Linked DNA regions of Homo sapiens: region 2 is linked to region 1. Evidence: promoter capture Hi-C in 16 types of primary human blood cells and fetal thymus (Javierre and others, 2016). All regions are on one chromosome and are shown on one strand. Each heading gives the region's core, a stretch centred on a gene start or on the middle of the fragment in contact. The rest is flanking DNA. Distances are from core to core; before and after follow the strand shown. Region 1 holds the start of TSPYL2 (TSPY like 2). Region 2 has its middle 17 kb from the start of UXT.

Region 1 (3,973 bases), core at 1,094-3,593:
CTTCCCAAACTCAAACAAGGTGTTCCTAAAATTGGACCACCATGGAGAATGGGGACTGGGAATTGAGGATCAAATGTGAGGGAAACTGATGAGGTTAGGAAATGCCCCCCACAAAGTAATGGCTTCTGGAGGGACTGCTCAGTCTGGGATGGGAGCCCTTCCTAGGGGCCACTGTATGCAGCTGGGACTTTGGTCAGCTTTGACCAAATTTAGAGGGAGGGATGTCATGGGGAAAAAAAACCCAAGCCCAGGAGTCTACCCAGCCAGCCTGCTCCCTAGACAGTTAATTTACTATCTGGTTATTCTCTCAGGTGCACAGAATTGAGTTGACCATACTCCTCAGTTCTTGGCACACTATATCATCATTGGTCCATGTGAGGCCCTTTTATTTTTTTTTCTTCAGTTTTGTCCCCTTCATCACCCATTCCTGATCCCATCCTCCCCGCCCCCTACACAGGCACCCACTCTCGTGTATTTAACGTACGTCCTTCCAATCCACCGTTCATGTGTTTATTTACATATATGTGTATCTGTGAAAAATGTATGGTATTGCTGTGTGTTTTAATTTACATAAACAGTATTGTACTATAAATCTTGTTGTTTCTTTTTTCACTCAACATTCTGTCTTTGAGAGATCCAGCCATGTTGCCGTATATAGATCTAATTCATTCTAGTGGTCCATCTAAAACATATATCACATTTTTCTTATCCACTCCCCTGATGATGGATCCCTAGGTCTCCTCTCTGCTCCGCGACAAGGCTGCAATGGGCAGTTACCTACACCTCTCTTGAGGGATGCCTAATTTAGGGGAGAGAAAACTGAAGCTCAGAGAGGGGCAGTGATTTGGTTAAGGTTACAAAATGAGGGGCACACCCATGATGTGAATCCCAGCACCAAAGCCAGCCCTCCACCACCATGCCTCACAAAAGACCATCCATCTCTGGTTTAAAAAGAAAAATCTTAAAATACAGCATACACTGGGGAAAGGGAGAGGAAAGGATGGAAAGGGGGAGAAATGAAGAGACAGAAAGTGCTAGAAAATTCTAGCAGATGAGCTGAATCACAATCATTTTTATGACGCAGAGGAAGTTACTTTTTTGTGTGTGTGATTATTATTTGTAGAGCCATTTTGCGGAGATGGAAAACGCCACGTCAAAACCTGGCCCCCAAACCAAACACCCTGGGTGCCTAAATTGCAGGCGCAGGCGGTAGGGCAGCCCGAGCCCCCGAGGAGCTACAGCAGAGTTCACCCAGGGGGCAAACGTGGGGGGTGGGGGAAGGGGCAGAAGTGGAAGGTAGGAAAAGAGGCAGAAGCGGGGGGGCGGGGGGCAGGGGTTGTGTGAGGGAAGGGGCAGAAGTTGGGGGATAGGGGAAGGGCAGAAGCGGAGGGCGGGAGGGTGAGGGAAGGGGCAGAAGTGGGGTTGGGGGGTGAAGGAAGGGGCAGAAGTTGGGGGATAGGGGAAGGGGCAGAAGTGGGGGTGAGGGAAGAGACAGTTGGGGGATGGGGGTCAGAAGCAGGGAATGCGGGAAGGGGCAGAAGGGGGGGTGAGGGAAGGGGCAGAAGCGGGGGAGGAAGGGGCAGAAGCGGGGGGTGAAGGGGCAGAAGCGGGGGTGGGGTGGGGGAAGGGGCCGAAGCGGGGGATGGGGGAAGGGGCAGAAACGGGGGGTGGGGGAAGGGACAGAAACGGGGAGTGGAGGAAGGGGCAGAAGCGGGGATGGAAAAAGGGGCAGCAGTGGGGGATGGGAGAAGGGGCAGAAGCGGGGGTGGGAGAAGGGGCAGGAGCTGGGATGGGGGAAGGGGCAGGACCCGGGATGGGGGAAGGGGCAGAAGCGGGGGTGGGGGAAGGAGCTGAAGGAAATGGGGGAAGGGGCAGATTTTAAAAGTGCGTAGTTGCTGAGGGGAGGGGGGCGGGGGGAACGATAACGAGGCTCTTCCAATTTCATGTGAGCACATCCTGCTCAGCGCCTGCGTTTGTTTTTCGTCTCGTTTTTTGGTCTTCAGAACCACTGGTACTTTTCCCATTGGATAAAACGCTGAGAGGGTGAGGGAGAGGGGCTTCTTCCCCAGCTTTCCTCGCAGCCAATCGCCCTGCAGTTTCCCTCCCGTCGCTGAGGGAGTCAGCCCGTTGATTGGCGGGCCCGAGGGGAGCCAATCGGAAACTGATGATGTGTGGTGTTGGCAAGCGGATTGCGTGAGAGCGGGCAGGGGTCGCGGGAGCGCGATCGCCGCCGCGGCGGCCGGCAGCCAATGGCCAGGCCGAGCGGACCCCTGCGTCAGGAGTGGGCGGGGCTTCGGCGATTGGCGCGGAGGGAGTAGAGCGGGCGCTGTGGGAGGGAACGCCAGAGCGAGGTGGTGAGGAGAGCTGGTTGCGTGAGTCTCCTCAGCTCTGCTTACCGGTGCGACTAGCGGCAGCGACGCGGCTAAAAGCGAAGGGGCGAGTGCGAGTCCCCTGAGCTGTACGAACGCGGTCGCCATGGACCGCCCAGATGAGGGGCCTCCGGCCAAGACCCGCCGCCTGAGCAGCTCCGAGTCTCCACAGCGCGACCCGCCCCCGCCGCCGCCGCCGCCGCCGCTCCTCCGACTGCCGCTGCCTCCACCCCAGCAGCGCCCGAGGCTCCAGGAGGAAACGGAGGCGGCACAGGTGCTGGCCGATATGAGGGGGGTGGGACTGGGCCCCGCGCTGCCCCCGCCGCCTCCCTATGTCATTCTCGAGGAGGGGGGGATCCGCGCATACTTCACGCTCGGTGCTGAGTGTCCCGGCTGGGATTCTACCATCGAGTCGGGGTATGGGGAGGCGCCCCCGCCCACGGAGAGCCTGGAAGCACTCCCCACTCCTGAGGCCTCGGGGGGGAGCCTGGAAATCGATTTTCAGGTTGTACAGTCGAGCAGTTTTGGTGGAGAGGGGGCCCTAGAAACCTGTAGCGCAGTGGGGTGGGCGCCCCAGAGGTTAGTTGACCCGAAGAGCAAGGAAGAGGCGATCATCATAGTGGAGGATGAGGATGAGGATGAGCGGGAGAGTATGAGGAGCAGCAGGAGGCGGCGGCGGCGGCGGAGGAGGAAGCAGAGGAAGGTGAAGAGGGAAAGCAGAGAGAGAAATGCCGAGAGGATGGAGAGCATCCTGCAGGCACTGGAGGATATTCAGCTGGATCTGGAGGCAGTGAACATCAAGGCAGGCAAAGCCTTCCTGCGTCTCAAGCGCAAGTTCATCCAGATGCGAAGACCCTTCCTGGAGCGCAGAGACCTCATCATCCAGCATATCCCAGGCTTCTGGGTCAAAGCAGTATCCTTCTAATCGATACTCCGTAGGTCAGAAGCCCGTGACAGGAAAGGGGAAGGTGGGGGAGGGACAGAAAAGGTAAAGCGGGTGGAGGAGAGCCAGAGGTGGGCATGATCCCCCTATCGGAAGACGGACTAGACTGGGTGGAAGAGGGATGGAAGGAGGAGGGCAAAACAGCAGAGAAGCTGGACTGGAGATGATGAAGGGTGGTGGAGGGGGGGCGGACATAAAAACTGGACCACAGATGGGAAAGGGGGAAGAGGAGGAACATAGCATTAAAAAAAGGATCACAGATGATAAAAAGGGGGAGGGTAGTAAAGGGGCACACAGCAAAAAAATTGGACCAGAGATGGTGAAAGGAGGAGGGGAGGGGCACGTAGAAGATGAACTGACTCAGAGACCTTGAAGAGGGAGGGGAATGGCACACAGCAGAGAAACTGCCCAGAAAGGGTGCTTGAGCCATACAAGGCTCTGTAAACCTAGATTTTTGCTTAAGATACTAGGAGACCCCAATCCTGGCTGGAGTGCCTTGCATTGGAGGGAGGGGGGCTGGAGCCCCTGAAAGATCAAGAGAGGGAGTGTCTAGGTATAGAGAAAAAGGAGTTAAATGAAGGAAAGGGGAGAGTAGACACATACACATACATGTAACATGTTAGGAACATGAGTCGAACATCCTAATAGAATTATGTGGATA
Region 2 (3,973 bases), core at 863-3,362, 5.4 Mb before region 1:
TAGCCATATGTAGAAAACTGAAACTAGGCCTCTTCCTTACACTTTATACAAAAATTAACTCAAGATGGATTAAAGACTTAAATGTAAAACCCCAAACCATAAAAACCCTAGAAGAAAACCTAGGCAATACCATTCAGGACATAGGCATGGGCAAAGACTTCATGACTAAAACACCAAAAGCAATGGCAACAAAAGCAAAGAAATGGGATCTAATTAAACTAAAGAGCTTCTGCACAGCAAAAGAAACTATCATCAGAGTGAACAGGTAACCTACAGAATGGGAGAAAATTTTTGCAATCCACCCACGTGACAATGGTCTAATATCCAGAATTTACAAGGAACTTAAACAAATTTACAAGAAAAAACAAATAACCCCATCAAAAAGTGGGCAAAGGATATGAACAGACACTTCTCAAAAGAAGACATTTACGTGGCCAACAAAAATATGAAAAAAAGCTCCATATCAATGATCATTAGAGAAATGCAAATCAAAACCATAATGAGATGCCATCTCACGCCAGTCAGAATGGTGATTACTAAAAAGTCAAGAAACAATAGATGCTGGTGAGGCTGTGGAGAAATAGGAACCTCAGAGTATTTTAGCCAGTGATGGCAGAGCTTGCTGGAACTCAGGTTTTGATTGCTGGGATGGATGTCATCTGGTTAGGGCTCATCTAAATGCTCCCTCCATAGACGCCAGCTGAGTTCTGCCCCATGTTGCTTTTCGCTGTGACACGGCAGCACTGAGTTCCAATGCAAAGTCCCACATTCACTGTGTTCTCCCTTCCTCAAGCACACAGATTCTCTCTCTGCACCACATGGCCACTGCCAGATGGTGAGGGAAGGGTAGTGTAGGTGATTCAAGACTGTCTTTCCTACCTTCTTTAGTGCCTCTTTCCTTAAAATAATATTAAAACCAAGTACTGTGACTGCTTACCTGCTTTTTGGTTCTTATGAAGGTGGTTTTCTGTGTGTGTAGTTGTTCAATTTGGTGTTCCTGTCGGGGGACAATCAGTGGAAGCTTCTATTTGGCCATCTTGCTCTGCTTCCAAGCCTCAGTAGTTTTTCTTGAATAACCACTTCCCAATTTGTTATATTACCTTGGTAAATTTCCAGAGTCTTTAACTGGTTGTTTTTGGCAATTTTGTCCACTTTTGTCATGGCGTTTTGTGGAGAGGATTGCCAAGCTCCTTAGTCAACCTTTCCAGATGTCTCTCCCTTCCTTGTAACTAGAGTTTTGATTGCATCACTTAAAAAGTGTTAGTATGTTTCACAAAAATGTGTACCAGTATGAATTAGCAGTATATTTATTTATTTATTTGTTTGTTTATTTTTTAAGACGGAGTCTTGCTCTGTTGCTCAGGCTGGAGTGCAGTGGCGCAATCTCGGCTTACTGCAACCTCCGCCTCCCTGGTTCAAGCCATTCTCCTGCCTCAGCCTCCCAAGTAGCTAGGATTACAGGCATGCACCACCACGCCTGGGCAATTTTTGTATTTTTAGTAGAGATGGGGTTTTGCCATATTGGCCAGGCTGGTTTCAAACTCCTGACCTCAGGTGATCCGCCCGCTTCAGCCTCCCAAAGTGCTGGGATTACAGGCGTGAGCCACTGCTCCCAGCCTTTGCCCATTTTTTAGTTGGGTTATTTATTTATTTTGTTTTAGCAAAGTGTAAGGGTTCTTTATGTGTACTTTTTGTGCCATATCTGAGAAACCATTAAGGGGCAGGATTTGAATACATATCTGGCTCCAGCATTCATGTTCTTAACCATTACACCACGCTGCCTGTCTTGAATTAGCAGTTTAGATATAAATGATTTATGTATGTCGTGACTTAGACTCTTGATTTATTCCAAACATGCTTAGTCACCATGCAGTATCTGTATTTTCACATGTGTATTTGTATATATGTGATGATTGTGACACATAAGAATGGTTATTGCATTATTCCCAACAATAGAAGATAATGGTTTGAAGCAGCAATAAGTGAGTACTATTATTGCTCTCCCTATTAATGGTGCCCTTATTTCAGTGATGACGTTCTCTGTCTTTTTTGCCTATCACTTTTGTTTAATATTCTTTCCTCACTTCTAGAAAAAAATGTGTTTCTTCTTTAATATCTGATATGGTTAATGACAGAGCAGGAGCACCGTCATCTTGGACAAACACCGCCACTCTAAGTTCAAGCTCCCTTTCTAGCCTCATGCATTTCAAGGAAATCACTTCTTTTCTAACTACAAGCAGCCAGAAAAGAGCAGACAGTAAAACACAGATAAGACAGCTCAGGCACAGAGGGAGGCGGGGGGGAAGTCTCCTGGGTAACTGCCGAACTTCACCCTCATACAATGGACCCCAGTGAAACAGTGGGCCTTACTAAGCACATTCCTTTCCCTTCAGGTGCACTAAGATAGGGAAGCTAAAAGTAGACTGGGGGGGTATGCCTGCAGCTGCAGGAAGATGTATGGGAACAGACACAAAACTCTCCCTCCCAGATAAGCAAAATGAAGAGACACAGAAGCAGTCCAAGCCTCTGATAAACTCTCCCACCCTAAATCTTTAAAAACTCTTAGTCTGTAAGAGAGTGGGCTCTGATCTAACTTGGCCAGAATCCCCTGTCAGGTTTGTTTTCTCTAAAATAAACCTGTCCTTGACTGTTGAGCCACCTTTCATGTTTCTTTCCTCTTTCTTTAATTCTTAGAATTAGGCTTTGTGTTCCCCACCCAAATCTTATCTTGAATTGTAATCCCCATAATCCCCACGTGTCAAGGGAGAGACCAGGTGGAGGTAATTGAATTGAATCATGGAGGCAGTTTCCTCCATGCTGTTTTCATGATAGTGAGTGAGTTCTCACGAGATCTGATGGTTTTATAAGGGGATCTTCCCCTTTCACTTGGCACTTCTCCTTCCTGCCGCCTCGTGAAGACAGTGCCTTGCTTCCCCTTTGCCTTCTGCCATAATTGCAAGTTTTCTGAGGCCTTCCCAGCCATGCTGAGCTGTGAGTTATTTAAACCTCTTTCCTTTATAAATCACCCAGTCTCAGGCAGTTCTTTATAGCAGCGTGAAAATGGACTAATACAATATCCCTCATAGCAGATGAAATATTGCATCCTTACCATGGACATCTGTGGTTAATCCATTGGTGTAACTTGACAAACATAGTCAGATGGTGTTTAAAATATATTCACACTTACATAAATAGACATCACTTTAAGCTTACTGCACTACTTATTTCTTAGTTACCTTACATTACGTAACAGGAATAATTTTTTTGTTTTATTTTTCTATAACCAACTGAAAGAATAAGTCATATCCCATTCTAGTATGTTCTGAAATTTTTTAAGGCTTTAATGTTAAAAGTTGTCATTCCTTTTCTTTTCTTTTCTCGTTTTTAGAGACAGGGTCTCCCTCTGTTGCCCAGGCTAGAGTGCAGTGGTGCTATCTCCGCTTACTGCAGCCTTGACCTCCTGGGATCAAGCAATCCTCCCACCTCAGCCTCCCAAGTAGCTTGGGCCATAGGCACATACCACCACACTCAGCTAATTTTTAAAAAATAGTTATTTCTAAAATGATTTTGTCTAAAATGATTCTCCTACTAACATAGGTGATTTTTTTTGTTTTTATAAAAGTTAAATGTTCCCTTATTTTTGAGACAAGGATTTGCTCTGTTACCTGGGCTGGAGCGCAGTGGCATGATCATAGCTTACTGCAGCCTCTACCTCCTGGATTCAAGCGATTCTCCTGCCTCTACCTTTCAATTAGCTAGGACTAAAAGTGTATGCCACCATGCCTGGCTAATTAAAAAAAATAATTTTTTTTAGAGACAGGATTTTGCCGTGTTGCCCAGGCTGGTCTTGAACTCCTGGCCTCAAGCAATCCTCCTGCCTCAGCCTCCCAGAGTGTTGGGGTTACAGACATGAGCCACTGCACTCAGCCAAATATAATTCCTGTCACCACAAATATCTGGCTCAGATTTTCCT

Evidence for each region. Contacts are between HindIII fragments. The CHiCAGO score rates a contact against its expected background, and 5 or more counts as called.
Region 2: a contact is called between a fragment that was not itself captured here and the fragment with the promoter of TSPYL2 in region 1, in 1 of 17 cell types (monocytes). The highest score is 5.9, in monocytes.

The regions. Positions count from the first base shown.
Region 1 is chrX:53,080,024-53,083,996 of GRCh38, forward strand. It overlaps TSPYL2 (TSPY like 2), which reads left to right and starts at 2,344. Exons shown (of 7, transcript NM_022117.4): 1 at 2,344-3,282. The coding sequence starts at 2,476. It overlaps GPR173 (G protein-coupled receptor 173), which reads left to right. Exons shown (of 2, transcript NM_018969.6): 2 at 1-592. RefSeq lists silencers at 2,209-2,318, 2,589-2,638, 2,669-2,718. The HindIII fragment of the contact is 18,116 bases long and covers 1-3,973 here.
Region 2 is chrX:47,673,787-47,677,759 of GRCh38, forward strand. No RefSeq gene overlaps it. Among named protein-coding and RNA genes, the nearest start is that of UXT, 17 kb to the left of the region's middle. The HindIII fragment of the contact is 2,187 bases long and covers 1,020-3,206 here.